Regions from separate parts of the Homo sapiens genome. Here region 1 is linked to region 2. The links are contacts of gene promoters, found by promoter capture Hi-C in human tissues and cell types (Jung and others, 2019). All regions are on one chromosome and are shown on one strand. Each heading gives the region's core, a stretch centred on a gene start or on the middle of the fragment in contact. The rest is flanking DNA. Distances are from core to core; before and after follow the strand shown. Region 1 has its middle 48 kb from the start of KLHL14. Region 2 holds the start of KLHL14 (kelch like family member 14).

What was found. The method cuts DNA at HindIII sites, captures the fragments that hold promoters and counts their contacts. A contact is called where the count stands out against the background at its distance.
Region 1: a fragment that was not itself captured here is called in contact with the fragment with the promoter of KLHL14 in region 2 in 1 of the 25 tissues and cell types used here (lymphoblastoid cells).

What each region holds. Positions count from the first base shown.
Region 1 is chr18:32,819,209-32,821,982 of GRCh38, forward strand. No RefSeq gene overlaps it. Among named protein-coding and RNA genes, the nearest start is that of KLHL14, 48 kb to the left of the region's middle. The HindIII fragment of the contact is 5,004 bases long and covers 1-2,774 here.
Region 2 is chr18:32,771,682-32,774,381 of GRCh38, forward strand. KLHL14 (kelch like family member 14) reads right to left here and starts at 1,342. Exons shown (of 9, transcript NM_020805.3): 1 at 986-1,342. LOC105372055 (a long non-coding RNA gene) reads left to right here. Exons shown (of 2, transcript XR_935342.4): 1 at 1-606; 2 at 1,634-1,760. The HindIII fragment of the contact is 6,474 bases long and covers 1-2,163 here.

The sequences.
Region 1 (2,774 bases), core at 72-2,571, 48 kb after region 2:
AAATAAATAAATTTAACTATGTAACTAGCACAAACTCAATGTAAAAAATGAGATATATTCCTATATATTAGAAGGTGTTAAAAAATTTAAAGAAAATTTATTTGTAATAGTATCTACATAGTCAAATACCTTGAAATAAATCTAAGGGAGGATGTGTAGAAAATCTACACCAAAAACCATAAAACACTGTTGAGAGAAATTAAAGAATTAATTAAAGGGGGTGGATATATTATGGTCCAGAATTAGAAGTCTCAATATTTCCAAAATGTCAATTTTACCAAGTTGATTTATAGATTTAATGTAATCCCAGTGAACATTCCAGTAGTTTTTTTTTTTTAATGGAAATTGACAAGCTCATTCTAAGATGAAAAGGCAAAGATGCAGGAATAGTAAAAGAAACTGTGGAGATCAAAATTGGAATATATGTACGGCTAGATATCAAGTCTTGATTACCATAGCTTTATAATAAAACAGTGTCATATTGACATGAGTATTGGTTTTGAAACCGATGGAATAAAGAGTCCAGAAAGAACATTTTAGTCTCTTGAACATATATGGTCTTCTGATTTGTGATACTGGTGACAAGGCAGAGCGTGGAGAATACCATTCTAGTAGTAGTGGCAAGTCAATTGAATATCACCATGGTTCCCACTTAATAGCATAAGTCAGTGGTTCTTAACAGGGACAGTTTTGGCCTTCCTGCTCCCTTGGACATCCAGCAATGACTGGAGACATCACTGATTGTCATGACTTAGGATGGGACATGCTATGGTACTTAGTGGGTACAGGCAAGCGATGCTGCTAAATGTCCTACAAGGCACAGGAGAGTCTCTACACAATGAAGACTTGGCCTGTCCAAAATGTCAATAGTGCTAAGGTTGAGAAACCACGCTGAAAACAAAAGTCAATCTTAGGAGGACTATAGGCTTATATAGGAAGATAGAACATTAAAGCTTATAAGAAAGAATGTATTCATGACCTTGGGTTGTCGAAATTTCTAAAAAGTGACACAAAAGAGCAGTAAGCATAAAGGAAGAGATTGATAAAGAAGAATACAAGTTGTTTATCAAACCACATCCCAAACACAGTAAGATGCTAAGCCATAAGAAAGATATTTGCTATATATATATATATATATATATATATATGTATATATATATGCAACAAAGTGCTTGTATTCAAAAATATATAAACAATGTCTACAAATCAGTAAGAAAAAAGCCAACTCAAATAGAAAAATAGGCAAAATAATCTCTTTTGACAGTAAGTATATGAGAAAGTGCTCAACATCATTAATCACTAAGGAAATAAAAATTTAAAACTGTGAAGTAACATTATACATTCACCAGAAAGATTAAAATGTAAAAGACTGGGAAGCTGTCTTAATCCCAGTGTGGATTAAACTGGGGAGCAACTGGAATTTTCATACACTGCTGACGGGATTGTAAACTGGAACAACTACTTTGGAAAACCATTTGTATCTACTAATACTAAAACTGGACATGTACATATCCCTGTTACTTAGCAATACCAGTCCAACAGAAATGCATACACATGTGTACCAAAAGATATATACATATATGCACCAAAAGATATATATCTTCTATCATGTACATACTTGCAGATTATATACATGATATATCATAAATAGGTACATACTCATATGTATATATACATACACACATATACCTATGTATGTATAAAAGTTTATAGCAGCATTACTCATAATAGTTAAAAACTGGTAACAACCTAGTTGTCTATCAACAGTATGGATAAGGTCTAGTATATTCACACAATGGAATTCCTCACAGCAATGAAAATGAATAAACCATTGTATATACAATAACATGAATAACTCTTACAACGTTGAATGAATGTCAGACACAAAAGGGTACAGGTACATATGATGTCATTCATTATATTAATATGAAAATTGGGTGTTACAAGTCAGGATAGTGTTATCTTTGGAGAGGAAGTTAGGGTTAGGGACTGAGAGAGGGGCAAGGGAGGGCTTCTGTGGTGTTAGTGATATTTTATTCCTTATCTGAACGGTGGTGATACAGGTGTGTTCCTTGTGTAAAAATTCGCTGAGCTTCACACTTATGATTTGTGTACTTTTTCTATCTGTGTATCAATAAAAATATTTATTTGAAAAAATGCATGAGTGGGATGGAGTGAGGAAAAAGTTGGTGCAGAAATAAAATATGCTTTTAGAGTTCAAATATCATATATCCTCACTTATAAGTGGGAGCTAAATCATGTATACATATGGATAGATAGTGTGAAATAATAGACTTCAGAGACTAGAAAAGTGGGAAGATTGGATGGGGTGAGGGATGAAAAATTACTTAATAGGTACAATTATTCAGGTGATGATTACATGGAAAAAACCAGACCTCATCACTGTGCAATATATACATGAAACAAAACTGCACTTGTATCTCTTAAATTTATACAAATTATTGTATAATAATACAAATTATTGTATAATTTGTATAATTATTGTATATATATCATATATATATTTACACACCCTTAAAAAGTATCTGCATTTGAGTTTGCAAGATAAAAATTTCTGACCATGTTTCCTATTCAAAATATTGGAGAATTATAATGCATTTTCTCAATTCCCTTATGATAAATCAAGTTGGCAAAACAATTGGTATTTGTTTCTTACCAAGTTTTCCTAGTTCTTTTTTTTAAAAATATTAGTATGAGCCTGAACTACACAAACTTTCTTTGTTCTTTCCCTTCCTCAATTTGGTTTACCTTGC
Region 2 (2,700 bases), core at 92-2,591:
ATTCGTGTGCACGGTTTCCCCTCCCGGGCACCAGGCGCAGTCGCTTTAACTCCAGTAACTATGAGAAGTTCAAGTTAGAAGGCAGGTGTTGGGGGAGGGGTGGGGGCTGTCGAACGAGCGGGGGGGCGGGGGAGCAGTGGGGTGCGGGGTCTCTGCGCCCCACCCAGCATCGTCGCCTGCAGCCGCAGCTCCCTTCTGACCCCCTCGGTAGAGCCCCCAGCGGCCCCCCACTCGGGCACCCCCACTTCCCCGGCCCTGGAACTACTTCTGTAAAAAGTCTGAGCCGCCCGCATCTAGGCAGAGGAGGGCAGGGTGGGGGAGGCGAGGCGAAATCGATACGCCAGGTCCTTAACCTGTAATTGCACCTTCCAGGGCTGAGCAGAAAGGGACCCTCTGCTTGCATCCCGCCCGCGCGCCGGCCCGCCGGCCCGCCGGCCCGCCCGCCCGGGGGAGAGCCGCCGCCGCCGCCCGGCTCGGAGGGATCCCGGCGGACCTGCCCCTTCCACTGCGGCTCACTCTGCCCTGCCTGGCGCCGGTCCTGGATCGCCGGCTTCCTATTTATACCGGACTGGGCTCCTTTCGACTCACTTTACCATCCCGTTCCAGGTGGACCCTACCCTCCCTCGCGCTCCCTCCGCCGGCAGCACCCCCACGCCCGCCCCCAAAGCTCTGGCTTGCCTGAAACATCTTACAGAGTCTCTCTCCCTTTAAGAGGACCCGGTCATACCTCTCTCTAGCTCTCTCCGCTTCGTTGTCTCCCCCCGCCCCATCTTTTCCTATTCCCCTTCCTTCTTGTTCTTCTCCCTTGCCTTTCCTCCTCATCTGCTTATTTCTTGCAATAGGAGTTTTTTCTTTATGAGCGTTTGCCATACAACTACCCCCCCGCCAACCCCTCTGAAAGACTCCCTCCCCGGCCCTTCCCCCTCCAACAATCCAAAAGACAGAACAAAATACACACAAGGCAGACACAAGGCCAGAAACTTACCTGTTCTCAACCAGCTGCAAAGTCAAGGCTCACTTAAGCTCCCCCCAAAAATCAATTGTCCTTCCTTTTTAAAGGTTTGCTGTCTCCTTGGGAGGGGGAAAACACCTTCTGGTTCCCAACTCCAGGCAGTCACTCTTTACAATTTATTTTGTCGTACATCATTTGATCACCATGAATTAGCAACAGCAAGAAAATGTAGGAGAGGGAGAAAAGAGAGAAAGAGAGAGGGAGAGAGAGAGGGAGCAGAGCTTTCTGCAAGAGAAGAAGAAGAAAAAATGTACGTGTGACAAATTATGCTACCAAGAAACAACACATCATTATCCTTGGGCCTGGGGCTCAGTGAGTCGTAACGAGAGTAATAGGAAATCCACGGTTGGGGAGAGAAACGGTCGTGCTTGGCCAGTAGAGAGAGACCATACAGGGGGATGGATGCTGGAGAGACTCGCAAAATTATGGCTCAAGGCTATTGTAAAAATTGTCGAGCGTAAATGACTGCGATTTCAAACATCTTTGGAAGAAAGAAGGGGAAAAAGCGAGCCCCCCCTCCCTCCCTCTCCCTCTCTCTCCCTCTCTCTTCTCTCTCTCTATAAAGAACCGTCAAGTTTTAGTGCGCATTGCTAATTAGTCAATTTCTCTCTGCCTTCACAGGCTGGCGACTTCGCTGCTGAGCTGAAACTGCTAATTTCTGTGACCAGCTTTTTTCTTAGCTGTGATCTGGATGAATGAGTAGCTGTCTCACAGAGATGACAAAAATAAACTCTAATCCCCCCCAAAATTTCCACTACATCTTTCTCATGCATAGATTTATGATCTTCAAGTGCTCTGTGCAATATGCAAACTTTTTTTGTGTCTGTATATATGCTGTTGTTTCCAGATTTCACTACATTGGTATGCTGCTTTTCCCTTCCCCCCACACCTCCCCCCCACCCCCAGCACTGTGAAATGCAGAAACAGTCTGATCTCAAAGTATGCTAAGACACTACTTTATTCTGTTTTGGTATTTGGGGTTTGGGTCTGTCCTGAAAGACACTAGCCCTTGCCTAAAAGGTGAGTGGCTGAGGATACACACCGGGGTGGGGGAGTAGAGCTGGTAGACAGAATAGAGGACAGCCCTTTGCTTTACATTTGCTTCCCACAAGGCACTGTTCAAGGTTTATGATCTTATTTGAAAACATATTTTCTCTATCATTTTGTCTGGTTAAACAACTGCCTCTGAACTTCTCTGTCAGCTCTTCAACAGATAAGGGTGCAGAAGTCACGTTTTTTTTTTTTTTTTTTTTTTACTGAAAGATTATCATATTGTTGGATTTGTATTTCAATTAGGAGTCTTTGATTTGCAGGAGCTAGAATCAAGTGCTAGGAAACCCAGCCGCAATTTCACAAATGTAACCTTTCAACTTTAGAGCTCATCTGATATATAAGGGCAACCACATAGTGCTCACATTTTTGACCCTGCTTAGCATGCAAAAGGAACCCCAGCATGTTTCTGGAATTTTAGCTGTACCAGAGATTCATGTGCATTTTGGTAGAGGACATGTTCTCCAGACTTATCTCATGATGTATTGCACCCTTATGTTTATAGCCCTGCATTTCGGTTGTCAATGGGGGTTGGAGGTGTCCAAGAAAGAAAGAAAAAAAAGAAGCAGAAAAAGGAAGGTATGCCCTTGAGTAAAATGAACACGAAGAAAGCTGGACATGAACTAAATTGAGCTTTG